Linked DNA regions of Homo sapiens: regions 1, 3, 4, 5, 6 and 7 are each linked to region 2. The links are contacts of gene promoters, found by promoter capture Hi-C in blood cells and fetal thymus (Javierre and others, 2016). All regions are on one chromosome and are shown on one strand. The core of a region is centred on a gene start or on the middle of the fragment in contact, and the rest is flanking DNA. Distances in the headings are between cores, read along the strand shown.

The links. Contacts are between HindIII fragments. The CHiCAGO score rates a contact against its expected background, and 5 or more counts as called.
Region 1: a fragment that was not itself captured here is called in contact with the fragment with the promoter of ATOSA in region 2 in 1 of 17 cell types (activated CD4 T cells); the score reaches 5.4 in activated CD4 T cells.
Region 3: a contact is called between a fragment that was not itself captured here and the fragment with the promoter of ATOSA in region 2, in 1 of 17 cell types (activated CD4 T cells). The highest score is 5.8, in activated CD4 T cells.
Region 4: a fragment that was not itself captured here is called in contact with the fragment with the promoter of ATOSA in region 2 in 1 of 17 cell types (fetal thymus); the score reaches 5.1 in fetal thymus.
Region 5: a contact is called between a fragment that was not itself captured here and the fragment with the promoter of ATOSA in region 2, in 1 of 17 cell types (total CD8 T cells). The highest score is 5.1, in total CD8 T cells.
Region 6: a fragment that was not itself captured here is called in contact with the fragment with the promoter of ATOSA in region 2 in 1 of 17 cell types (total CD8 T cells); the score reaches 6.1 in total CD8 T cells.
Region 7: a contact is called between the fragment with the promoter of MAPK6 here and the fragment with the promoter of ATOSA in region 2, in 6 of 17 cell types (fetal thymus, naive CD4 T cells, total CD8 T cells and 3 more). The highest score is 8.8, in fetal thymus.

What each region holds. Positions count from the first base shown.
Region 1 is chr15:51,846,458-51,850,525 of GRCh38, forward strand. The region is part of intron 1 of TMOD3 (tropomodulin 3); the gene reads left to right. Among named protein-coding and RNA genes, the nearest start is that of TMOD3, 19 kb to the left of the region's middle. The HindIII fragment of the contact is 704 bases long and covers 1,100-1,803 here.
Region 2 is chr15:52,677,489-52,681,473 of GRCh38, forward strand. ATOSA (atos homolog A) reads right to left here and starts at 1,900. Exons shown (of 13, transcript NM_001385016.1): 1 at 1,340-1,900; 2 at 518-634. The coding sequence starts at 533. It overlaps LOC105370821 (a long non-coding RNA gene), which reads left to right and starts at 2,117. Exons shown (of 4, transcript XR_932255.4): 1 at 2,117-2,205. RefSeq lists enhancers at 596-665, 796-935 and a silencer at 1,516-1,835. The HindIII fragment of the contact is 2,387 bases long and covers 160-2,546 here.
Region 3 is chr15:51,823,731-51,827,487 of GRCh38, forward strand. No RefSeq gene overlaps it. Among named protein-coding and RNA genes, the nearest start is that of TMOD3, 4.0 kb to the right of the region's middle. The HindIII fragment of the contact is 734 bases long and covers 1,281-2,014 here.
Region 4 is chr15:51,975,140-51,978,941 of GRCh38, forward strand. It overlaps a transcript of MAPK6 not described here. Among named protein-coding and RNA genes, the nearest start is that of LEO1, 5.3 kb to the left of the region's middle. The HindIII fragment of the contact is 8,624 bases long and covers 1-3,802 here.
Region 5 is chr15:51,723,107-51,726,914 of GRCh38, forward strand. It overlaps LYSMD2 (LysM domain containing 2), which reads right to left. Exons shown (of 3, transcript NM_153374.3): 2 at 1,684-2,015; 3 at 1-543. The coding sequence ends at 501. Among named protein-coding and RNA genes, the nearest start is that of LYSMD2, 13 kb to the right of the region's middle. RefSeq lists a silencer at 3,307-3,366. The HindIII fragment of the contact is 1,992 bases long and covers 1,022-3,013 here.
Region 6 is chr15:52,036,567-52,040,423 of GRCh38, forward strand. All of the region lies in intron 1 of MAPK6 (mitogen-activated protein kinase 6), which reads left to right. Among named protein-coding and RNA genes, the nearest start is that of MAPK6, 19 kb to the left of the region's middle. The HindIII fragment of the contact is 635 bases long and covers 1,236-1,870 here.
Region 7 is chr15:52,017,800-52,021,645 of GRCh38, forward strand. MAPK6 (mitogen-activated protein kinase 6) reads left to right here and starts at 1,420. Exons shown (of 6, transcript NM_002748.4): 1 at 1,420-1,577. It overlaps MAPK6-DT (MAPK6 divergent transcript), which reads right to left and starts at 1,296. Exons shown (of 2, transcript NR_156732.1): 1 at 900-1,296. RefSeq lists enhancers at 1,021-1,090, 2,431-2,480 and silencers at 1,261-1,370, 1,671-2,180. The HindIII fragment of the contact is 8,244 bases long and covers 1-2,342 here.

The sequences.
Region 1 (4,068 bases), core at 202-2,701, 830 kb before region 2:
GACCTGGCCTAGTTTATTTTAGGTTTTATGTGTTCTTCAATGCTTACTAACTTGGTGGATTAAGAAAATTCTTGCAAGAGGAAAAATGAGTCATGGTGATACTTCCCTTTGGGGGAGAGAAAGAAAACTCTCAGATTAATCTCACCATTATGCACTTGGCATGGATTCAGCATTTTGATTGATGGCTGAGCATTGATAAATCTTTCCCTGTAAGCCACTTCATATCATATTTGGTTTTGTTCACAGTAGGACTGGTAGAAGTCTCTTTTTCAGTTAACCAGCAGAGATAAAGAACTCTGTAACCTTATTACCATCAGAGACTTGTTCGTATGATGTCATTTCTTTTTTTTAAAGATATTTTGAGTTTGCAACAACTGGGAAAAAACATTTCCCAGTCTACCCAGTCTATTAAACAAACAAACCAAAAAATTAAAAACTGAAAAACATTTGGTGCTGAGAAACTGGGTATGCTAAGGGTGTGGCTATTTTGGCATCCATCTTTGGTATGCACAGAGTGGGTTCCTCTTTGACCTTGCCCTGTGTCTCTGATGCTGCAGCTCCACTAAGAAGAAGAAAAAGGGGAGGTGGGACAGAACTGGGAGCTGGTTTGCTACTATTCGTCAGAAAAGGAAGTGGGGCACCTACAAGAGAGCCACGAAGTCTCTCAGCAGGGTCTTGTTGAAAGATTGTTTTTGAAGTGGTATGAATAACCTGTCAAGTATTTTCTTGTAATAATCACAGAACTAATCTGGCTACTTTCTACTTTAAGGTAGTCCTCCGTGATCTGCTTCTAATTACATCTCTTCTTTATTCTAGCCCTAACAAGTTTTTCTGCACTGCCTTCAGATTTCAAACTATTTTCTCTGCAATCTATAAATTTCATTTTTTAAAATGCAAGATGGCATTGGTAGCAATGGCAGGAAAGACAGGGCTACTTAGGTTGATTAGTTTCCATGGGACTTTTACACAGAATAATCAACCACTATTTTTTCAACTACTGTGTGCAAAGCAGCTATCTCACTGAGCTGTGCTAATATCTGAGTCAACAAACCGTAGCATCCCCAAAACGCCACAAAAATTATTAAAATACTGTCTTTTAAGCTTCATTATATAGAAGAATCAGTGAACCAAACAAAAGGATAAATTTAGCATCCAGTATATTTCCTTTAAAAAAGTCTTAGACAGGCATGGTGGCTCACGTTTATAATTCCAGCACTTTGAGGGTCTGAAGCAGGAGGATCACTTGAAGCCAAGAGACCAGTCTGGGCAAAGCAAGACCCCATCTCTATCCTCCTCCATTTGCTATCAAAGTAATATACGTTATATACAACTAAAATAAAATGGGCATTTTTTAGAAGGTAAATATGTGTGCCAATACAGTGCTTTGAGCGTGGTGGGTATTGCTACGGTTTGAATGTCTGTACCTTCCTAAAATTCATATGCTGAAACCTAATCACCAATATGATGGTATTAGGAGGTGGGGCCTTTGAGAGGTGAGTAGGTCGTGAGGATAGAGCCTTCATGAGTAGGATTCATGCCATTATAAAAGAGGCCCTAGAGAGCTGCCTTGCATTTCTATCATTTCAGGACACAGCTCCATCTGTGAATCAGAAAGTGGGCTCGCACCTGACTCTGAATCTGCTGGTGTCTTATTGGACTTCTCAGCCTCTGGAAATTGTGAGAAATAAATTGCTGTGGTTTACAAGCTACCTAGTTTATGGTATTTTGTTATAGCAGCCTAAATGGGCTAAGACAGACACTGAATATATTCTTTGTTTATAATTAGTGTTATTTAGAATTATAAGCTTATAAAAAGGAAATGACCTTATGAGAGTCTTGAAACTCCCTTGCCTTTGAGGAATCTGCCACATTGTCCCTGACAGATATTCATACTCAGCCTCAACAATCCCAAGAATACATAGATGACTGTCTTTACCTTAGCCTTCTCCATCAAAGAGAATGTTCTTCAAACCAGCAGAGATGAAACTCAACCTTAACATTAAATAGAAGAGTATTTTGATGTTTTGAATGTTAAAATCTCCAGCCGGAGATAACTTATTGTTACATTATTTCCAGATTAATTTTGAACCATGCCAAACAGAAAAGGGAATGTCAATTTGAATTTTTTTAATTGAAGTAAATTGAAGCAGATACTTGGGAAATTGTTGGCTAGTGAACCGTATCTACTTCAAAAGTTTACATGGATATTCATCCAAAGGGAATATTTTGATCCTAACTACTATTAATATGTGTCAACACTGAAATAGTTTTATTTAAAAGTAAACATATATAATCACCAGAAGTTTTCTTCAGCATGAAAGGATATGACTGCCAGTCAATATCTGAAACAAAGGCAAAGCTGAATTTAATGCTTACTGTAATAAGGGAGAGCAATGCTGGCTAGACACAGTTTCTCTAAGAAGAGCAGGCCAATTTCTAATTTTGGGGAATTGTGGAATTCAGGGATTGGCAAACTTTCTGAGGCTGTAGTGGGTTAACATAATCTGTAGAAGTATGACTATGATTGGCTGGCACTCAGAGGAGTGTTTATTGGAGTATGTTCCCGATCAGCTTCTTTCGGAAGTTGGGAAGCTATTGCAATAGCCCAGATAAGAGGAGATAATGGCTTGGACCAGAGTGGAAGGAAGCAGTGGAGATGGTAAAGAGATGACTTTTAAAGGTAAAACCAGCAAGATTTGCTGGGTGGATCATGTGTGGAGTGCGAGAGAAATCAAAGTTGACTCCAAGATTTTTGGCCTGAGAGACTAAAGAATGGTGTTGCTGTTTATTACATGGGAAAAACATGGCAAGAGCAGGTATGGGGGAGAAAATTAGGAGTCTGTTTTGTATGTTTACATTTGAGAAACCTGTTAGCCATCCAAGTGGAGATTTTACATGGATAGTTATTTGCAAGTATGGAATTCAGGAGAGAGGTCCAGATTGGAGATATCAATTTAAAAGTTATCAGTGTATGAAATCACCAAGGCAGTGAGTATAGAAAGAGAAGCTGTCCAAGGAACTAAGTACTGGGGGCACTCCAACATTTGAAGATGAGGAAGATGAGGAGGAACCAGCAGAGGAGAATGAGATGGGGCAGTCAGGGAGGAAGGACCAAGAAAAAATGATGTCCCCAAAGCCAAGTGAGGAAAGTGTTTTATGGCCAGACACTGTGTCTAATAGGTCTCTTAAGATGTGGACTAAGGTGGCTCCTGCCTGTAATCCCAGCACTTTGGGAGGCCAAGGCAGGTGGATCACCTGAGGTCAGGAGTTCAAGGCCAGCCTGGCCAACATGGTGAAACCTCATCTCTTCCAAAAATACAAAAAAAATTAGCCAGGCATGGTGGCTCACACCTGTAATCCCAGCTACTCGGGAGGCTGAAGAAGGAAAATTGCTTGAACTCAGGAGGTGGAGGTTGCAGTCAGCCGAGATCACACCACTGCATGTCAGCCTGGGTGACAGAACGAGACTCTGTCTCAATAAAAAAAAAAAAAAAGATGAGGACTGAAAATTGACAGTTGGATTTAGCACTGTGCTGGCAAGATCAGTTTGGGTGGAGTGAGTGGTGGGGATGAAAGCCAGATGGGAGAATATTTGAGACAATAAGAGGGAGAGGACTCGGGTTACCAAATATAGACAATTCTTTTAAGTTTGGCTGTAAAGTGGAGCCAAGAAGTAGGGTAGTGTCTGGAGAGGGATGTGAAGTAGAAGGAGAGTTTATATGTTTTTTATTTGAGGTATGTATTACAGTCTGTGTGCTAATGGGCATGGTCCAGTAGAAAAAGAGCACAATTACTGGATAATTGTGCTCTTGTATAAATGTATACTGGAACCCTTGTATAAATGAGCAGGGATGGGATCTGGTTCCAAGAGGCAGGATTGGCCTTAGGTAAGAGACTGGACAGTTTATCCATAATAGCAAGAGGGAAGGTAGAGTGTATGGGTACAGGTGTGGCAGGTTTGTTGATATGATGGGAACTCAGATGTCATTTTATGATTGCTTCTATATTCTCAGTGAAATATTAAGGTAAGGTCATCAGAGAGTGAGGGGTAGGCAGTATTGAAGGTCT
Region 2 (3,985 bases), core at 650-3,149:
GTCCATATGCTGGTATATTGAATACTGGAGTACTCTGCAAACTTTTGGAGTTTGCTTAAAGCACAAAAATCAACTAATCAAAGTAGTAATAAAATAACAGTTGTCAACTCAAGCTTAAGTTTTCTCTTCATTTTATCAAGTTCACATTCAAGTTTAAAAAGCTTATGAACTTCTTGAAAGTTGAAGTTAGATTGACTACCTAAAAACGAGCAAGTACAACTCTAAAATGATACCTGTATTGTGGCAACAGATACAAATACCATTCTTTACTTTCATTTTGAGATACACTAGAATCTCTCTTGAAGCTAGTGCTTCAGAAGCACTTTTGTAAAAACGCTTAACCTTCTCTTCCATATGCCTTTCTCTACCTCACCAGCTGGAATCTGTCACAAAAACAGATAATCACATATGATACAGAAATAGTTGATCCTACTGCAGAATTAGGTTAACACTTCTAAATTGAGGCATAGAAAAGAAGGGGGTGGGGGAACAAGCCCTACTTAAACAAATCATTTACCTCGGTCTGGCTTCATTTTCACATCCAATTTTCGCCCAGAGTGCTGTGAAATGCACCTGTGGGTTCTTTCAACAGGCTCGCCGCTGATTCTACGGCTTCTGCTTCGCTTTCAAAATGCTGAAAGAGACAAAAATAAAATTAATCTGGCCCTATTCTAATACCCGGACCTTGCAAGTAAACTACTGTTAAGTTAGGCCTCTTCCTGGCACCAACTGCGGTGACAGCACCCTCGGCTGGTCTGAAAAAAGCAAAACTCTCTGCACCGCCTCCCCCATCTCCTCCGGATCGAGCACCCCCTTCCCTGCCTCTGTGCTCTCCAGGCCAATGTGTCCTTCTGACACAGTCTCTGAACCAAAACAGGATCTATTTATAACCTGGAGGTACAGGCAAGAAGAAGAAAAAGATTTGAGCAACACAAACTAACCCCTTCGTACAAAAACGCCTCTGGAAACAGAGGCACCTCCGCAGGGCTGGTATGGAAATTCTTCCACCTGGTGCCTGGGCGCAGCCAACTCTTCCAGTCCCCTGCGCCTCCCGAGCCCTCCGCCCGCCCCGCCGGGCCTCACCTGTGTAATTACCCTCTGGCTAGCCTTCCTGCGGCAACCGCGGCCAAGTTTACACAGAAACCCGAGTCACCTCCTCCCGCCCAGCCCCCAGCCCCAAACGAACTCTTCCGGGCTGTCCCGGGGCGACCCTACCAACTCCCAACCAGTCCTCCGCGGCCGGCTCCGGGGGAGGTGTTTACAGCCTGTGCTCGCCCCCTGCTCTGCACAACCCCTTCCGTCCCGCCGCGGCCCCGGATTTCCTTCAGCCCCGCCGCACCGAGCGCCGCGTCTGCCCCTCTCCCCGCTGGAGAGTTGTTTTCATGGCGCTCTCGAGCTGGCCGGCTCCTCCGCTCCCTCGGCCGACCTCTGCTGACTAACTCGCTCTCCTCTCCCGTCCCAATCCCGCCTCCTCTTGGCACTTCTCTCCACCGCTCGCCCAGCAGCTCACATCACACTCCCACCTCAGACCCCAGGCTCCGAGAGGCGCAGGGCCAGCGGGAGCGGAGTATGGAGCGCAGCGGCCCCCGCGGCTGCCTCAGGTGACCGTGGGGACCCGAGACGACCAGCCCGAAGCGGCTCCCCGGCGCCCCTGTGGCCATCCACCCGCGCCTCAGCCACCGCCTCGCTCCGCTCCCTGCGCTCAGCCCCTCCGCCCTGCCTGACTGGCACCCGAGCCCCGCGACCCCCGGGCTTCCCCCGCCCGTAGCCCCGGCCGGCCCTCTTGCCCAGCGCCTCTGCCAGCTCCTTGCCCGCCCGCTGTCTCTAGCTCTGGCGCCCCGGCTCCCCGTCCCCCTCGCTCGGCCAGTTCTTTCTCTGCTGTTTGCCCTGTCAAAACACTGCCTAGGTCACGTGTCCCAACAACAGCCAACCCACCCCGGTCGTCACTTCCTCCCCGGCGGCCTCCGCGGCCCTGGCGCCCGGTTACTATGGCAATGCCGCCGCTCGCCCCGGGGCGCTAGTTTGGGGCCGGGTTTTCGGTGCAGGTGCCCGGCGGGTGCGAGGGCGCTGGAGATGGCGGCTGGGAGACACCAGCAGAGTCCCGGAAGCCCGAGACGTCCCAGGCACTTCGGTTGCGCTCCCAGCCGGCAGAGGCGCGCCTGGATTCTGAGACCAGGAATCGGAGCTGCGCTATTAGAGCGCAGGGTAACTGGGGAGATGTCATCCAAAGGCCTGCCCCAGACGTGGAGGATAATTATAGTCGTCGTCTCCTCCTCCTCCTCCTCCTCCTCCTCCTCCTCCTCCTCCCCCCTCCCCCTCCTTCCCCCCCTCCTCCTCCTCCTCCTCCTCCTCCCGGGATGCTGGCACAGAGTTGTGATCGAGCCCCAAGTGGATTGCAGCGCATAATGGAACCCGGGTTTAATGTGACCGGGACGGGGGGTGGGCAGCTATGCGGGTCAGGGAGTGGGAGAATTTAAGAACAGGAAGCCCACCCCCACCCTAGATTTTCCCAAATCACTAAGGATTTTAGTAGGATTCAGAACCCAAGCTTCCAAGACACTCGCTGTGCTAAAAATAATCTTCATAACTTCTAAAACACTGACTCATGGGCAGGAGGACACTTTGACAGCATGTTATTGTTGGGGAGCTGTAATTTTGTTGTTGTGCTATAGCAATGTGACATGATGGCATTTCATGTTGTGATGTTGTCGTCATTTAAACACAAACAGATGACAGGAATCTGCTGTACTTAAAAAAAAACCCAATCCTAACAAGCGCTGCAGCTATTAGCTACTCAGTCTATAGACAAAGTACATATGGGGCATGAGCCCAAATGGAGACAAGTAAAAATTTGCAAGGCTCTTTGGTTTCATTAGAAAAAGTTTTTTTTTTAGATATAATTTTGCATAAAAGGATCACAGGAAAGTATTAGGACAAGTCTAAGGGGATTTTTTTTATTTGTGCCCTTCTGTTTTAAAATTTTTTTTACAATGAGTCTATTATTTTCACATCAGAAGAGTTTTATAAACTGCAAGATTGGCAGTTCCATTTTTTTGGCCTCAGGTAAAGTTCTTATGAAAAAGGCATGAAATATTTAAAAAGTAACATTTTCTAGTGCTTAGATATGTACAGTAAAATAACATGTACAACTGAAATTGTTAACCTTAACTCCACGATTGTATCTAATCAGAGCGGAGAGAACATTCAGGAGGGTAACATTTCATTTTCTCTGAAATGTTCTGGCATCATGACGATGAAACTGACAAATGGAAACAGTTCTTTAATCTATAAAATGCTACAAATGTTAAATCCCAGTGGATTTGACTTTGATATTATTGAATACTGTATTATGTAGTTTTTAAAAAATGAACTGAAGTTTTACTTGTTCTACAAGCACTTGGTAATGGGAGACAGAACAGTTACAGATAAGCCAAAAACCTAAATTTAGCACAACAGCTGGGACCAAATAACAGCTATTGTAAAAGGCTTACTGGGTGAACAGGCAGCAAAATCTGGTTTAGCTTCTTTCTTCCTCTATCTAATGCAAAAGAGGTAAAAAGACCAGGAAATGTTGAGAGCAGAAGCCAAGACTATTAGTGTGTAGCACAAACTATTCTCTTTTAAATAATTTTTAACAGCACTTGGGTAAATGATGATGTCAACATTTGTTAGACTAACCTGAAGTTTTTTTAAATTTAGAATCTTAAACCTGTTCAAAAATTTGAAATCATTATGGCAGCAGAAAAAGTATTTAAAAGGTGTATTTCTGACTCATTATTCAAATTGTTTCATTCCATAATATGCATTTACTGAATACTACCTGCTAGGCTCATACAAGTCTCTGAGAATGTAAAGGTCACCAAAACCAGATAGGGTCACTACTTTCAAGGAGCTTATAGTACTATTACAGTTACATGGCCCTAATCAAGTCACATTCTAACACCTTTGTTTCACCTATAAAAGTGAGGTGTTTAGACTCTGACAA
Region 3 (3,757 bases), core at 398-2,897, 850 kb before region 2:
ATCACTTGAGGTCAGGAGTTTAAGATCAGCCTGGCCAACATGGCAAAACCCTGTCTCTACTAAAAATACAAAAATAAGTCAGGTGTGGTGGTGCACGTCTGTAGTCCCAGCTACTCAGGAGGCTGAGGCAGGAGAATCGCTTGAACCCAGGAGGTGGAGGTTGCAGTGAGCCAAGATCGTGCCATTGCACTCCAGCCTGGGCGACAGAGTGAGACTCTGTCTCAAAAACAAATAATAATAATAAATAAAAATAAATAAAGACAAGGAAAAGTAAGCAGAAGTTAAATCATATCACAACTCTGGTCTTGGTAGAAGGGTTTGGGGCATCTAGCATTTATCATTTAAAGACCTGAATTTAATTCTTATTTAATTCCATTTATGACAGGGATCATATTCATTCACTCACCTGAGCTGAAATTTGGCTTTCTGCAGTGACTGTAGGAGAGTCTAACAATGGACAGCACTGGGAATTTATTGCTTCTATAGTAAATGTTAAACTGAACAGTTTTAGCACTAACATTTTTAATATTATTAAAATAGTATTAAAATTTGGGGATAATATTTTAGGTTTATGTGCATATCCCAGAAGTTTATTCTTTAATAGTGATGTTTGTCATCAACTTTGGCTTCAGCTGAAGAGTGACTTATTTTTTGGCCCTTTTGGCATTTGGCTGAAATGTGTATTCAGTGCACTTCTAATGGAGGCATAATGGGGTATGAAAATATGGGAAAGGCAAAATTAATTCCAGCTGATGGCATTAGTGAAGGTTGAGTGGGGAACAGACATTTGAGATGGACAATGAAACATGAGGAGGCTTCTAACAGGCAGAGATGGGTTATAGAAAAAGGGGCACTTGAGGCCAAAAAGTGTGCTTGAATCTTTCCTGTAAAACTGTATGCACACAGGCGTGGTGGCTCATGCCTGTAATCCCAGCACTTTGGGAGGTCAAGGAAGGCAGATCACCTGAGGTCACGAGTTTGAGACCAGCCTGGCCAACATGGTGAAACCCCGTCTCTACTAAAAATACAAAAATTAGCCAGGCATGGTTGTGCACACCTGGAATCCCAGCTACTTGGGAGGCTGAGGCAGGAGAATGGTGTGAACCCGGGAGGTGGAGCTTGCAGTGAGCCAAGATCACGCCACTGCACTCCAGCCTGGGTGACAGAGAGAGACTCCATCTCAAAAAAAAAAAAAAAAAAAAAACCGGTATGTACCCAGCCATGATGTTTGTCTTCTGTGATTGCTACCTCCCACTGCTTCCATAGGATTCCTACCTCCAAGCTTCCATAATGAAATCCTTCCCTTTTCATTTCAAATTTTTGTCTTTAGTTTTTCTCAGCTCTCCTATAAATACACGTTTTTACATACACACAAAATATGCTTACATATACCAAAGTAACTATTTCCTAAAGGAACTCTTTGATAACAAGAAAAGTGCTGCTGTTATTAATTAGCATACGATGATTCAGTGTGACATGCTTTCTGAGTTATTCTGGCTGGAAGTTTAGAGATAACACTAATTAGAGCTTGTAATATTAACACATAAAGTAGAGTTGAAGTGTCATTTTATCAATCACTTTCACTCTAACCAAACCCTGAACACTAATGGGAACCATACTCTGTCCCTTGTTCAAATATTTTACCTGAAGGCCTCAGATTTGTTCTCTGTAGTGTGTTAGCCTGTTGAACTTCAACAGTTTTCCATTACTTGAAGTGGGTTAAATGCAGACGGTTGGGGGTGCCATACCACTTCTAGTTCAGATCATCATGTTTCTTTGATTAGGCACTATAGTAGTCAGCTTTTGCTAAGTAAGTCTATAGTAACAAACGAACCTAAACCTCAGTTTCCCCTTCGCTCACATTATATATTATGTCAGCTAGTGGCTGAGGCTCTGATCCATGTAATTTCTTATTCTAGAACCCAGGCAGAAGGACCAGCCTCTATTCAGAACTTGTCTCTCTTGGTGGAGGGAAAGAGCAGGCACACTAGTAGAGAAAGGCAGTGACTCTTAAAGCTTCCACCCAGAACTGTCGGATTGTCCCTTCCACTTATATTTTATTGACCAAAGCAAGATTCATGTTTCTAAACTTTGTGATTACAATATGACATTTAACCGAAGAGAGGAGGAAAATCCCATCATGGGATCATAGCCAAGCCTGGAATGCCTGCGGGGCAGCACTGGAAGTCACATAGTAGTGGGCAAGCCTGTCTATTCCTCTAAAGGAGAGCAAATATGTGGGAACAATATTTCAATCTACCACAGGTATTTAGTGGACTTACCTTTTCACTTATTTATGTAAATCTAATTTCCATGTTTTTCCTGTTTGTTTTCCTCCAAGAATTATGTTTCCAACTCTAAGGGAATAGTGGCAACCCTAAATTATAGCCTTTTTAAAAGAGAGCTCTGTCTCTATTTCAGGACTTTCACAGGATCTTATTCTCCTGTGTAGTCAACCCTCTTGCAGCTGGTGTTTACATCCAAATCAGGTCACTGGCTGGCATTTACAGGTGAACCTTCTGGGTCTGTGTCCCAAGAGGAGAGTAGGAGAGAGAGGGAAGAACCCAACATTCATTTATTTACAAATATTTATTGAATACTTTCTGTGTGCAGGCAGTATTGTAGATGCTAGGGATGGAGGAGTAAACAAAGCAAAGCTTGTTGAGCTTCCACTAAGGAAACAAGCAATATGAAGCTATGTGGTAAAAGTGCTATGACGACAAGTAAAGAAAGGAGAGAATGGCAGGGTAAGGTGGTAAGAGGAAGACTTTCAGAGGTAACATGTGAGCAGAACCTTCATTAAAATGAGGGCATGAGCTAGAAGCATCTGGGAGGAAAATCATTCTCCTGCACAGCATAAAGACTCTGAGATGGGGAGAAACTTGGCAGGATTAAGAAACCTCAGGGAGGCCAGTATGACTAGAGCAGTATCAGAGAGAATATGTGGTAGGAAACAAAACAATCATATACAGATTTGTAGAGGTGTTAATTATGGATTTTATTCTAAATGTGATGGAAGCCATGAACGGTTTGGAGCAAGATGGTGATATGATCTGATTTGTTTTTAAAAGATCATTCTGGGCTGGGAGTGGTAGCTCACGCGTGTAATCCCAGCACTTTGGGAGACCAAAGTGGGCAGATCACCTGAGGTCAGGAGTTCAAGACCAGCCTAGTCAACATGGCGAAACCCCGTCTCTACTAAAAAAATACAAAAATTAGCTGGGTGTGGTGGGGTGGGGGGCCTGTAATCTCAGCTACTAGGGAGGCTGAGGCAGGCAGAATTGCTTGAACCCCGGAGGCAGAGGTTGCAGTGAGCAGAGATCACGCCACTGCACTCCAGCCTGGGCGACAGACAGAGACTCCGTCTCAAAAAAAAAAAAGTCATTCTGGCTGCTAATATAGCGAATGTGTTATAGCAAAGGAGTGGAAGAAGTGAGGAAGGTTCTACCTCTTCAGTGCTATCCAATACTAAGGTATTACTCTTAACATCTCTGGCCCCATATGTGGTATTTAATGTACACGGATTTAAGAGATTCATGTTTATAAGCTTTGTGATAAAAATATGATAATGTATGCCTGAAGAAAGGAAAAAATCCACCATCAAACTGCATTATTTTAGAAAAAGGAACTAAAATAAGATGTATACATTCGTTAGGAAAAATTTGAAATGAATAGCGAAAATATATTTAATATATGCCTAACAGCCCATATTGGAAGGTGAGAGAGGAAAAGTGTAATAGATTAAGTCAGTCAGACA
Region 4 (3,802 bases), core at 443-2,942, 700 kb before region 2:
TATCTTTTTAGATACCATAGAACCCGAAGAACAAAGATTCAATGAGGTTGAGTACATAACACAATACAATTAATGTATCATCACAAACATTTTTACAAGGTAATCAAAAAAATACTCAACAGGCCGGGCGCGGTGGCTCACGCCTGTAATCCCAGCACTTTGGGAGGCCAAGGCAGGTGGATCACGAGGTCAAGAGATCAAGACCATCCTGGCCAACATGGTGAAACCTCGTCTCTACTAAGAATACAAAAATTAGCTGGGTGGGGTGGCATGCACCTGTAGTCCCAGCTACTCAGGAGGCTGAGGCAGGAGAATCGCTTGAATCCGGGAGGCGGAGGTTGCAGTGAGCCAAGATCGCGCCACTGCACTCAAGCCTGGAGACAGAGCAAGACTCCGTCTAAAAAAAAAAAGTATAAAATATATACTTACACCAAATCACACAAAAAGGAATATATGTTTTTAAATTTGTGTAACACCTTAACGACTTAGAGGAAAAATAACAGATTGATTAAACAGAATATATTCACTGAAAATTCACTCCATTTATGGTAAACTGCCACTCCACAGGAGGATCATGTGGCTTTTCTGAGCACTTTGTGGAAGGAGTTGGCCTTTAGAAGGGAACAGGCTGATCTGAATTAAAGAGAGCAAGAGAGGAACCTTGTAGTTTCTCTCTATAGCAGTAAGTAAATACTCAGCTGATTTCTTGGAAGACACATGATATTCACTAACAGTCTGCCTTTACTGGATTCCTTACTGAATTACTGAATTAGGGTCCCACAATGGGTGCTATAGGGATATAAAAATAATGACAAACATATTTCTTCATATAAAAGAGTTTGGGGGGCTGGACACGGTGGCTCACGCCTGTAATCCCAGCACTTTGGGAGGCCGAGGCGGGCGGATCACGAGGTCAGGAAAGCAAGACCATCCTGGCTAACACGGTGAAACCCCATCTGTACTAAAAATATAAAAAATTTGCCGGGCGTGGTGGCACATGCCTGTAGTCCCAGCTACTCGGGAGGCTGAGGCAGAAGAATCGCTTGAACCCGGGAGGCAGAGGTTGCAGTGAGCTGAGATCGTGCCACTGCACTCCAGCCTGGGTGACAAAGCGAGACTCCCATCTCAAAAAAAAAAAAAAAAAAAAGAAGTTAATTATAAACTATGTAGAGGTACTAAAAATTGAAAGCCAGAAAATGATCAGTGAAGATGGGGGTTAGTCAGGAAAGGTTTCTTAGGAAGATTCAAACTATATTAATGAAGTGACCAGAGGGAACGCAGTTATTGAGACATAAAATTGAGCAGAACGTAAAACTCAAACAAGAACATTGACCAGCTTATCAAATTCATTCCCTGATTCACTATAAAATTTCAGAACACTGGGGATTAAAAAAAAAATTCTAAAAGTTTCTAGAGAGAAAAATCTGCTGGCATATGAAGAATCTGGAATTAAAATGTTGTCAGATTTCTAAACAATTCTGAGAGTTAGAACTATGTGGAATTGTCTTTAAAATCCTGAAGGAGGCCGGGTGTGGTGGCTCACACCTATAATCTCAGCACGTTGGGAGGCCGAGGCAGGCGGATCATGAAGTCAGGAGTTCAAGACCAGCCTGACCAAAATGGTGAAACCCCATCTCTACTAAAAATACAAAAATTAGCCGGGCTTGGCGGTCGCACTCCTGTAATCTCAGCTACTCAGGAAGCTGAAGCAGGAGAATCGCTTCAACCCGGGAGGCGGAGGATGCAGGAGCCTAGATTAAGCCACTGCTCTCCAGCCTGGGAGATAGAGCAAGACTCTGTCTCAAAAAAATAAATTAATAAAATAAAATTCTGAAGGAAAATTATCCATCCTAGAATTATTATTATTATTTTTGGGGGAAGGGGGATGGAGTCTCTCTCTGTTGCCCAGGCTGGAGTGCAGTGGTACGATCTTGGCTCACTGCAACCTCTGCCTCCCAGGTTCTACAATTCTCCTGCCTCAGCCTCCCGAGTAGCTGGGATTACAGGTGCACACCACCACGCCCGGCTAATTTTTTGTATTTTGGTAGAGACGGGATTTCACCATATTGTCCAGGCTGGTCTCGAGCTCCTGAGCTCAGGCAATCCATCCACCTTGGCCTCACTAAGTGCTAGGATTACAGACGTGAGCCACTGCGCCCGGCCGATCCATCTTAGAATTCTGTACTCACCAAACTATCATTAAATAAAGGAAAGAGTAATGGTATCCGAAGGAAACTAGCCTCTATGTATGCAGTGCAACTACCCTGAGGCTCCATGCTGTGAAAAAGCCCAAAGGAGGCCACACAGGGAGACCAAATGAAGAGAGATGCCAGGCCAACCCCCATCTGTTATCGCCCTCCTACAGTTCCTACTCCAGCCTCCATTTATTTTGTTGTTGTTGTTTTGTTTTGTTTGAGACAAAGTCTCCCTCTGTCACCCAGGCTGGAGGTCAAGTGGTGTGATTACAGCTCACTGCAGCCTTGAACTCCTGGGCTCAACTGATCCTCCCACCTCGGCCTCCTGAGTAGCCGGGATTACAGGCATGTGCCACTGTACCTGGCTAACTTTTTATTTTTTTGTAGAGACAGGGTCTCACTATGTTGCTCAGAATGACTTCGAACTCCTGGCCTCAAGCGATCCTCCCACCTTGGCCTCCTAAAGTACTGGGATTATAGGAACAAGACACCATACCTGGCCCCAGCCACCATTTGGATGCCACCTCAGTGAAGGAGCCCAGGCCACAAGTGCCCAGCTGAGCCTTTCCTCAATTGTCTCAGAGTAACCAGGAGACCATAAATGGGTGCTGTGGCATAGTACACTAAGTTTTGAGGTATTTTGTTATGCAGCCTTAGCAACTGGTAAGGTTGCTCAAATATTTTACAGTCTATGAATTGTCCACCAAAATGAGGTGGTCCACTAAACCAAGGAAGAGAAAAGCTGTTGAGATAGGAAAACCAACAATGGAAAGAAGCAAAAGGAATTACTGATGACAGTTTAATTTTTTTTTTTTTGTAACAGAGTCCTGCTCTGTCGCCCAAGCTGGAGTACAGTGGTGTAATCTCAGCTCACTGCAGCCTCCGTCTCCTGGGTTCAAGTGATTCTCCTGCCTCAGCCTCCCGACTAGCTGGGCTTAGAGGCACACACCACCATACCCAGCTAATTTTTTGTATTTTTAGTAGAGACAGGGTTTTGGGATGTTGGCCAGGCTGGTCTCAAACTCCTGACCTCAGGTGATCCACCGGCCTTGGCCTCCCAGTATGCTGGGATTCCAGGCGTGAGCCACCATGCCCAGATTTCAAAAAGGTAATACGGTATCTAAACTCTATTACCACACCCAGCAGGGGCTGACCAGCATCCTATAATCAAAATTAAATTTCTATAGTAAAATGTATGAAAATTCAAACTAAGAGTGATAAAGTTTAAATAGGTTTAGATCAGTTTGGGTCAGCATTTGCCACCAAAATGAGTTATGAAAGTACGCTCAATTTCAGAGATTTTTTGGGGGGATTACCTTATAACCCCATTAAAAAAACAAAACAAGAAAAAAACTTTTAAAAGAAAACAATTTCAGAGATTTTTGGATTTCAGAATTTTGAAAAAGGGATTGTGGACTAGAACTAACTTATTCCATTTTCACAACAACCCTATAACATAGATTACATTACATTCCTCCCATTTTACATGTCAAGAATTTGAAGGGGCCAAGCATGGTGGTTCACACCGATAACCCCAACACTTTGGGAGGCCAAGGTGGGCAGATCGTTTGAGTCCAGGAGTTCAAGACCAGCCTGGGCAACATAGT
Region 5 (3,808 bases), core at 768-3,267, 950 kb before region 2:
AGTTTATTTTTACAAAATAGCAGACAAAATTTGGTTCTTTATATTAATAGAGAATATGTAAGACATATCGAAATATATATATAGCACTTAAGTTATAAACACACAGCAAATTCAGCATCACTTAAACAGCAACCATATTTTCACATAATCAGGATTGCATAAGGAGATAAACATTATTTTTAGCCTAAATATATAAATAATCTTTGATGCTTTATGTCAATTAGTATTTATAAAAGCTAGTCTAAAAACTAACACCACCTACAAAAGTGATGAGCTTTAGGCTACAACCTTGCCATCATGCCATAATAAAGACTTAAAATTATAGAAAGCCAGAGGGAACTAATCACTTCAGTGCAACTGCAGCAGGTAGAACTACCTAGTTATGATTTTAAGATGGACACTATAGGAATCCAGAAGGGATGTTTTTGAATCTTCAGTTGTTGGATTCTTTATGGTCCAAACATATCTTAATTTTGGTTAGAGTTATGCCCCCAAATCACCTAACTGTGATAGAGGGAAGTTGCATAGGGACTTTCTTCATCTCTGAAAGAAAATAAATACAGCATAAATCAGAGTTTAGAACTGTATGCAGAAAACTAAAACATCAACTTATTATACAATATCCACTTGCCAAAGAAGGAATATATCAACTTAGAATATTGTGCATGCCTAGACAACTGTATGAAATGCCAATACTTAAGACATACCTTACTATCTCCATTTTATTCATATCTCAGTTATTAGAATAAATAATGTCATTCATTTATGTATTTATATTTGCTTATATTTACATATATTTTAAATCTATACTAAATTATATTCATATTTATATTTGTTTATGTTTTCTATATTCTACCTCTTTCCCAAAAGGATTTAAGGTACTAACAACAAAAGGCATATATACAATAAGATTAATAAAATAGAAATAAAAAAATCAGGACTAAGGAAAGGAGAAGGAAACCAATGTATTAATCATAAGAAATATTATAGGAGTTGAACACAGGTATCAATTTTAGTTGCAAGCTTCCCAATAGCCAGAGCAAAAAAGGAAACACAGTAGATTGTACTTTTTTGAAATCAAATCATAAAGAAAAAAGGAAACCAATTCTATAGGAGAGAGAAAGATTTGCCCTAATATCAAATTTAAAAAACAAAGAAAAAAGTTCACATGAGATCTTATGTAGGAAACACCCAGTAACAAATAACAGACAATGTCTTTGACAAGTTTTGCAACTATCAATATTTTACAAGTATTTTCTATGACACTACTTCTCTTGAAAGTGTCAGTGAGAGAGACACTTTTATTTTGCCGCTATCCAGAAGTGCTAGCTGGACAGTGACGCTATTAAAGCAAAGAAGCAAACTTTTTATAGTAAATAACAGATAAAAACACTGCAACAGATAAAGCCTTGTGCATCAGGCAGCAGCTCTGTTTAGAGTTTATATACTAAAAATGCCTTTCTAGAACTAAAATGCAGTTTTTAAAGCAAAAAAAGAAAGAAAGAAAGAAATTAAGAAAGGAAGAAATTAAGAAAGAAAGAAATTAAGAAAAAAAGAAAAAAAATCAGAAAGAAAGAAAAGAAAAGAAAAGGCAAAGAAAAGAGAAAAGAAAGATTTGGCCCAGCAAGGACATCTTAATAGTGATTTATTTAGACTTTGACATTTGTACCAGGGTATTCTTACCTGCTCTCTTCTTTTAGCTTCTTGGCTGCCTGTGTTGATAACTTAATCTGCAAGTCAAGTCTCTGCAGGAAATCTCTGGCTGACACTTCCTCAGGCTGCACAGGCTGAACATCAGATTCTTGAGGACTGGGAGGAGGGAGGTCTTCCCCGGCCACCACTGGCTCCTCTTCCTGAGAAAAACTGTTATCAGCAGTTTCATTTTCTGGAGAATCAATGGAGTTAAGTCCATTAAACAACAAAGGCTTCTCTGATATAACTGGGATGTTCAAAGTTTTCTTCAGAAATATACAATCATTGGTAAACAGTTTATTGGCCCTTTTAATCTGTTCCATCTAAAATATAAAAAAGGAGACACAGAATTACATATAACCAAGTCAAGGAGTAAGATTTATTATACAATACAGAACTACCAATATTCATAAGCAAAATGTACACAATGCTTTCTTGGGATTTGAGACTCTTCATTCAGGTTTGGTAACCTCCCCAGATATCTCTAGTTATTTCAAGAGATGTTGGAGAATTGTTTCCCAATTTTTAAAAAGGACAGACTAATTTTTCCACATTATACTATTTCTACTACAAGGCAGCTTTTAACATCAGTGGACTTAAATCTCTGAAGTTTAAAAATGTAAAATTTTTAGCACTTAATAAATTCCATTCTTGTTTTAACATTTCTATTATCTGATTTTTTTTAAACTTACCATTGCTGCTGTTTTACTTATGAAGTGCTTCCCATGTCTCTAGAACTGTACTTAGTAAATACAGTTACTGTATGAACATGAGCTTGTTACTTATATCATTGATCCTTTCTCCTCATGTGTAAAACAGGTACCATCTACCTTTCACAGGGTTGTTGCAAGGATTAAATGAGAGCTTATATACCCACTCACATCAAGGAAATATATATATATGAGAGAATATATAAAAATATATGTACATTCTATACATATATTCCCATATATATCTATATGGAAAGAGAGAGAGAAAGTAGTGATTAGAGTGTCTGGCAGTGGATGGTACTTACTACTCTCCACTTTGCGATGAAGAAATCAAAACACAAAAGAGATGGTAGATTTGACCAAGTACATATGGCTCTTTAAATGTTTAAAATGGGATTTTTGTCTGACTCCGAAGTCCGTACAACATCTGAATTAAAGTACACAACTAATGAAATCACATTATGGGGAGCCTTTAATGCCAAATGAATTCTGAGTAAAAACAAAAAAATTGTATTTCTACTTCAAAAAGCCTGCAAAAACAACAGTCAACTAAGTGGACCCTGTTCATCCTGCTTTGTTATAAGCTGATTCCATGCAAATAGTACATGTAAAGCTTTCTTTTTTCTTCTAAAGATACTCCATTAAAGGAATGAGATTTTTAAAAAGGATGGTCTTTTGTGTTCTCGTTTCTAGTTTAAGGGGAGAAAGAGAACATAAACATGGGCAGGTGCCTTTTAGAGACAAAATTAAAATCTAAAAACCCCAAGTATCTCTGGTCTAGTTCAGGTTTGAAAGGGTTAATAACTTGGACACTTTGCCCGTAGCAGGTTCAGGTATACCTATTGCTATTTCGCCTTTAGGACCCCTAGATCTTGCCCCCAAGCATCCAGCTGCTCTATCTCTCTTAGTGCATAGGCTTCCAATGACACTAAGCCCTCCCCTGGCTCCAGAGTGAGCATATGACTCATTCCTGCCCTGGGGAGCATCACAGGCTTTTGTGATAGATCACAGACCCATGACAGAATCATTCAGACATGCAAAGAGACTCCTGCAGGACGGTAGTCGAGGGGAGAGTTCTCTACTGCTTTCTGCTGGAAGGAGATAGGCTGGAGATGCTGGCAGTCATCCTGGCACCTTGTGGAATCTGATACTGGAGTCACCTTAGAGGTGAGCATTTGAACTTCTGGATCACAGCCTGAAGACAGAACATGCTCAGTTCCAAGATCCACTAAACTCCACTTGGAGTTTGTTTTTTGTTTAGGCCAATTTGAGTTAGGTTTTCTGTCACTTGTAGCTGAAAGAGCTCTTGCTGATACAGTGCCCTTTGAAATGCTTATCAGAAGGGGACTACGACTGCTAATAGTCATTGCTTCCTGGGAATAATGATGGAAGACAGAAACAGATGG
Region 6 (3,857 bases), core at 303-2,802, 640 kb before region 2:
AATAATCACCACTTATTAGGCCCCACCTCCTAACACTTGCATTGAGGATTAAGCTTCCAACCCATGAACTTTGGGGGACACATTCAAAGCATGGCACGGGCCTAGTGAAAGACTGGACTCTTTCAGTAGGGCCAAATTCTTGTATGGATCTGATAGCAAACCAACTTAAAATTTTGTTTTTAAATCTCGCAAGCTTTCTTTTTTTCTTCCTTTCTTTCCTTCCTTCCTTTTTCTTTCCTTTCTTTCCCTCCCCTCCTCTCCCCTCCCCTCCCCTTTTTTTGTGAAAGCAGGTTTATTAAGAAAGTAAAGGAATAAAAGAATGGCTACTCCATAGGCAGGGCAGCCAAATCTTGTAAGCCTTCTTCAGTTTGGAGAAAATGAGAAATAAAGAGGAAGGATATTCCAAAAAAATAACATGCCATTCTGAATTGTTTTTAAAAATTAGGGAATTGGCCAGATGCGGGGCTGATCTGTAATTCCAGCACTTTGGAAGACTTAGGTGGGAGGATCACTTGAGGCCGGGAGTTCAAGACCAGCCTGGGTAACATAGTGAGACCCCATTTCTACAAAAAGAAAAAGAAAAAAAAGTTGAACGTGGTGTGTGCCTATAGTCCCAGCTACTCAGGAGGCTTAGTGGGAGAATTGTTTGAGGCAACAGAGTGAGACCCTGTCTCTTAAAGAGAATCTCCAAGTAAGCATATGGTTCTCTCCATTTGAGAGTCCAGAGATGTTTTATATGGCCTTGCATAATGTGACCTTCTTCAGACCCTCACCAGAGTTAGCTCAAAAACAACAGCAGTCACGTTTGATCTGTAGTCTGAAAAGCTGTGGTGCTAAACCCTGCTAGGATGGACTGAAGAATAGTGTCAAGGTCTTGCATATCTTCATTATACCTTCTTTGGTATTACATGGGCTGATAGGACTTTTTAGAGTCCTGCTTGACTGATTATATAGGATGCTATTTCAGTGGCACAGTCCCTCCCCATCACCTCAACAAGATAAGATGAGAGCTGTAACAAAGCTGAAGTGTTTCATTTCTTCATTCTGAGTGGGTTGAAACCAGCTGCCTTCTTCATGTTGTTGGCAGACCTGTGCATTCGCATAGAGTGAGGGTCCTGGTGGAATGCCTGGAAAGGAAAATACCATATCTGGGAATCTTCACTGATGTTTTCTAGTGGTAGATCAGAATGTGATCAGATTCTGAAAAATTCGAGGATAGGACTTCCCTTCTCCAAAGCTTTCTACTCACGTAGAATATGCTATTTACATTGATTCATTCAGTACATATTTTAGGGTACCTACTAATTACCAGGTACTATGCTTAGGAAATGTCCCCAAAGCTACTTAGTCCCAAACCTTTTATCATAGACAAAGCCACAGAAAAAAGGAGGGGAATGGTGCCCTGGAAAATGAAGAGTAGAGGTTCTGAAGAATCACATTAGATTAGGTTGGGGGAGGATGGCAAAAGAAAAGGGAGTGAAAATGTTATTAGAAAGAGGAGAAAGAAAAGTGAAATGTTAGATAGGGAGGAATCCACTACATGCCCCTGTGCTCCAGGAGTAATAATGTGTTCCTTTGAGCTCAAGATTGAAAAAAAAAAAAAAATTGACCTCTGCTATAGCTTAATGCCTAAAACAATGCCTGGCACATGGTAAGCATTCAGTAAAATGTTGAATGAAACGTAATGGATGGATGGGAGGGTTGAATCTGTTTAGTCTGTTTAAAAGATGTTTTAAAAACATCTTGGTTCATTCTGCTTCTGGGCCCATGTTGGGATTGCATTTACCCACTCCCTTGGGTATACGTATGACCATGTGACCTACTTTAGTCAGTAAAATGTGAGAAGTGAATGGTGTCACTTTTGGATGGAAGCTTTTTTGCCAGTGAGATAGTCTTACTTTTCTCTGCTACATTGCATGTAATTGGTAGAGATGGTGGGTACTTTAGCAGCTTGGCTGACAGCTACGTTGAACTTGTGGCATGAGCAAGACTTAGATTTTTGGGGGCCATCTATTATCCTGACTGCTTTGAAAATTTATATTTTCATCTAGTTAGAATCCTCAGGTGTCCAAAGGTGCTTGAAGAAAGAGGCTGTGCACATGTCTCCTGTCCTATATTTGCTCCAATATTTCTTTAATGTTAGTTAGGTTAGGAATCTTAGAATAAAGCCTCCTGCCGGGAGGAAGATAAGAAATGGGATCAAGCGTTATTATAATTATTTAAAAATTTCCAGCCGTAAGTTTGTAGAAGGGATTATATTTGTTTAGTATACAGCAATTTGAATAACATCTCTCCCATTCTGAGCATACCACCACAGGGCTTGGGAATAAAACTAAAGAAATATAAGACTTGTAAATCATAGACTTAGAATTGGAAGAGTCTATAGGGATGTTATTACTAGTTTATCTGGTCTATGAATTTTTGAATTTCTAATATGAATGGGTTACAGTAAATCTGTAACTAGGAGATGGAGTCTCCCTCTGTCCCTCAGGCTGAAGTGCAGTGGCACGATCTTGGCTCACTGCAACCTCCACCTCCCAGGTTCAAGCGATTCTCCTGCCTCAGCTCCTGAGTAGCTGATTACAGCAGTGCACCACCATGCCAAGCTAATTTTTGTATTTTTAGTAGAGATGGAGTTTGACCATGTTGGTCAGGCTGGTCGCAGGTGATCCACCCGCCTTGGCCTCCCAAAGTGCATGAGCCACCACGCCTGGCTGTAACTAGACTTACTAGTTGTAATCTGGTTACAGATTTACTGTAAGTCATCCATACTGGAAAATAACAACTAGAGATAAGCAACAAAATAAACATAATGGCATGTGCTTTACAATGGCTTTTTAAATGGCCAAAGGCAAATGAAAGCCCCTAATGTTAAAATGCATGTAGGCAAGGGCTTAAACAATTTAAGAACACAAATTGGTAGTAGTAGGTGAGTGTTTTGTCTTTTTTTTTTTTTTTTTTTTTTTGAAGACAGGGTCTCACTCTGTTGCCCAAGCTGGAGTGCAGTGGTGTGATCTCAGCTCACTGCAGCGTCCGCCTCCCAGGTTCAAGCGATTCTCCAACCTCAGCCTCCTGAGTAGCTGGGATTACAGGTGTGAGCCACGACACCTGGCTAGTTTTTGTATTGTTAGTAGAGACAGGGGTTTTACCATGTTGGCCAGGCTGGTCTCCAACTCCTGGCCTCAGGTGTTCTGCCCACCTTGGACTCCCAAAGTGCTAGGATTACAAGTGTGAGCCACCACGCCCAGCCTGTTTTGTCTTTAAATTGGATACTTTGTTACTGTCTTCTCTGACTTTGAAAGTTTGTCTCTGTAGATAAGCATAGTTACTGATACTACCCAAAGCCTTTCAGACTTTGGCATTTTAGATTTAAGGTCCCATGTCTTTTCCCAGGTTCCTAAGATTATTTGTTGTTAATAGTTTATACTCCCAGCCTCCTTGATGTCCAAATCCTGAAAGGGCCCCTGATAACTCTTATGGCCGCCCACCATACATTAGGAGCAAGGGCTTTGTCAAAAATGCAGTGAGCAAGCAGCTAAGCTGTAGCACTTGGCCTTCTCTGCCCGAAAATCTTAGTAGCTTTGATGAGAGCTTGAGACATGATCTCAGGGAAGGGTGAATTTGCTACAGCTACATTTATCTGTGCCAGGGTTAGGAGATAGCCCTAGGTGAATATAAGAAAAGCTCAACCTTTCCCTTCTGTCCAAAAGCAACTGGGTTTTGGCTGAGGAGATGTGAGGCTGGCTAGGTTCCTGTTAACTCAAATTACTCACTTGACTATGGAGAAGAGCAAAATAAGAGCCTTTGTGGAGAGGGGATGGGGGAAGTGCTGTGCTGTCAGTGAATGTGAACAGGCC
Region 7 (3,846 bases), core at 170-2,669, 660 kb before region 2:
GAGGAAAAATGTCCTGAGGATCAGAGGAGAGCCTAGAGCAGAGGCAGTGGGGCTGAAGGTACGAGCTCTCGTTGCAGAAGCTGGAAATTCTGCGGTTGGAACAAGTCTCCCCTTTCTCTTGGTTTTTTTCACTCATTACCTCTTCTTCACACCTGGTACTCAGCTGACGTTGTTTTAAATATTAAAAAATATAAAGCATTCAAGCTCACCCCAACCACTTAACTTCATTACTCTGTGATTTTTTTTTTTGAGACAGAGTTTCGCCCTTTCGCCCAGGCTGGAGTGTCCTGGCGCGATCTCGGCTCACTGCAACCCCCCGCGGGGTTCAAGCTATTCTCCTGCCTCAGCCTCCCGAGTAGCTGGGATTACAGGTGTGAGCCACCACACCCGGCTACTTTTTGTATTTTTAGTGGAGACGGGGCTTTCACCATGTTGGCCATGCTGGTCTCGAACTCCTGGCCTCAGGTGATCTGCCCGTCTCGGCCTCCCAAAGTGCTAGGATTACAGGCGTGAACCACCACGCCTGGCCCTTTGTGATCTTTTTGAAGTGGTCTTTGCCTCTTTCTTGAAGATGCCCATAATAATGACTAGAAGGGCTATTCTATGTCTGGTTCTCAGCAAGATGGTGATGAAGTCATTGAAAAAATATGCTGACCTGCGTCTCTAATTTCATAAATACTTAAATTTCACATAAACACTGAAAAGGCTCCTTGGACTCAATAAGCCATGATAAGTAATGTAAGTTTGCTTTTAGCCAAGTGGGCCCAAGAAGGCACCCATCCACCTTTCTACGTTTCATAGTGCATCCCTTCCCAAATTCAAATTGTCCTATCCCAGTTCCTGCAACAAGCCAGGTACTCTGGCCTCCCAGTCTTTGCTCACAGAAACACCCTCCCCACCTCCTGGTTATATCCGCTCCTCCGGGATCCAGCTGAAAGGCCACCTTGGCGACCACTCCTGAAAGCCTTCCTCCATACTCTGGCAGAATGAATGACCTTAGTATTGGCCTCTAACGCGTCTGTCTTGTGCTCGGGCTGTCGCCTTCCAGCCAATCCATCTTAAGGTCCACCCTTCCTGGAGACTGAGGCCTCTTCCTCTCGGATTGCCCAGTGCCTTGCACGTAGTAGGTGCTTAGTAAACGCTGGCACTGGGTTTGGTCACTTTGTTCCCTTAATGCCAGGGCAGGTAGTAGAGCAAACGGCCCCAGCTGTCTTCCTCCCTGCCCGCCCGCAGGCAAAGCCCCCAGGAGACGCCGGACGAGCCGCGTGCCTTTCCCACCGCCTCCGCGGCGCGCGCAGCCCAGTCACGGGCGCTGGAAATTCCGGCGCGTGCGGGTGCGCTGGGCAGGGCGGGGGCGGGAGAACCCGTGGAGTGAGCCTGTGACGTGAGGGGGCGTGGCACCGCGAAGCCCCGCCCCCTCTTCCTCGCCCTCTCTCGCGGGTCGGGGTTACATGGCGGCGACTGCGGCAAAGCGAGAGCCTCGGAGACGCCGCTGCCGCCAGCACAGCCGGAGACCTGAGCCGACACTGGGGGCAGTCCGCGAGCCCCGCACTCTCTCGATGAGTCGGAGAAGTCCCGTGAGTGTGTGTGTGTACGTGTGCGGGGTGCGCCGGCGGGGCGGCTCGGGAGGGCGCCGCGGCGGGCCCGGCGGCGGCGGCGGCGGCGGCGACGGCGGAGCCGGCTCCCTCCTCCATTGTGTGTGACCCTCCGGCGGCTGCCGCTCAACAAAGGCGTTTTTGTTCGGTCTGCCGCCCGCCCCCTGCTCGCCCGCCTGCCCGCCCGCTCGGGCCTGGCCGGCGCGTCCCCGCGCGGGCGGGCGGGCGGCGGGCTGGGGTCCCCGCGTGGGGCCGGCCAGGCGGCCAGCGCGCCCCTCCCACCCGGCACGCCCCTCGCCGGTCGCCCTGCCAGGCCGCGCCCGCTCCCTGGCCCCGCACGCCTGCTGCCGTCCCGCCGCCTGCGCCTGGCTCCGCGGGTTCGAAACCCAGCCGGACCGGACCGGAGGGCGGGCGAGCGAGGGGCGGCGGCCCGGGGAACATGAGGTGGCGTGGAGTCTCGCCTTACTGGCACGCTGCCTTTCGAAATGCTCCCGCGTCTCCTCCCCCATCCCACCCGGTGACTCGGCCTCAGCTGACTCCGGCCGGGCAAAGTCTCCAGTGGCGTAGCGCGCAGCGCTCACCCGGCTCGTCTCAGAGCCCTGAAGTCCGCCCAAGTTTTGAGTCTTGCCATGAATGAGGTACTGAAAACTCGGAGACGAAATTCCTAATTTCCTCCCTCGGCCCTACAGTCTTTCCTTAGCTTCTTTCGGGACCTTAAGTGGTGGTCTGTAAAAGTGCCCAAATGAAAGCTTGTTTTGTCGGTTCACCAAAAAGGGCCTTGTCACTTTGCTGTGCATTTTAGTCCGCCTTGTGAGTTGTGTCGAAAAGTAAAGGTGTTTTGGCATCCTTTTGTTTCTTGGCGAGTGTAGGACCCAACCGGTTTAGGTGTTAGGGGGATCTCTGTGCAGCGGGAGCTTCTTGATTCCTTTCCTGTTTTATTTTTTCTTTTGCTTGTTCATTGGAAAAGGTCCAGTGAAAGGGACTGGTGAGTTGGAATTAGAAGCCTACTTGTATTAACGGCAGAATTCGTGTTCATTGCTAAAGATGCAGTCTCAGTAATGACTTTTTTTTTTTTAACGGATACAGATGATTTGTCAAGGGGAAAAATTAACACGCCATACAATGAAGAGCAAGCAGCTTCAGAGTAATTTTCTGATGGCTGATTCTTCTAGCCTGTCTCTTACAGTTCCAATTGCACATGTCCTCCCTCTTTAACGCTGGAAAACTGAGATGGAAAGAATGATCTGACCAGAAGAATGTAGGGTCCAAACAGGGCCTGGCCCTGAAATCAGGAATTTCTTCATAGAAATATCAGATTTTAATGTTTAAAAAATAATTTTGAATTGGGTGAAAGGAACTTTGTCTTTAGATAGTAGTTGTTCAAACATGTTTATGAAGTGTTTGCTATGTGCCAGGGATTGTAAAGTCATTTCACATATGTTACATCATTTATTAAGAATTGCCTTAAGCTTGTAAAATTATTCATTGATGTCCTGAATTCAGTAATTGCAGTTAATCTAGAAAATATGCCAGATTTGAGCAGAACATATTTGATCACCTAGGTATTACTGTTGAGAAGAAAACACTGGAAAATGGAGACTATTTTAGAAAAAACTTCGTATATGAGGATATTCTGGAATTCATTTATTTGCAAAAGAGGATTAGAAGTAGTCGTTGGCTACTTTCTGTTATTAAAAAATCCAGAGAAGAGTGATTTGAAGTCAGTTAATTTTGTAATAAAAAAATGCACACATTCTAAAGACTAATGTTAGCACTAAAAGTGTTGCAGTGCTTTACATAAATTCATTTAAAGCATCGTGAGAATCATAACTGACAAAATAGTAAGGTTTGCTGACTCAGGGTACTTTGCTGAAGGGGATGGGGGTCGGGTAGGAGGAAGCTTACAAGTGCTGCTGCAAGTTTTGAGTTGGATGATGACTCATGCTGCCCACGGACTGCTACGTGGCTTTTTTTTTTTTTTTTTTTAAATACACTGTATTTTTTTCTAAATGATAGGCTAAAATGTTCCTGTCCACATTGAAATTCTCTCTCATTTTTTCTGAAGAGGAACAGCAGTTTCTCTAAAAAAGTAATGGCTTCTTAAATTGCATTTTAAAAGGATATCATATACCCTACAGGTGGAATTGTGTAACATTTGCTGAGAGGAAAGGTAAAACCAATTTCTGGTCAGGTGCTGAAATTAAATGTTTGATACTAGCAGTTTTTTGGCTACTGCTGAGAGAGATTTGTT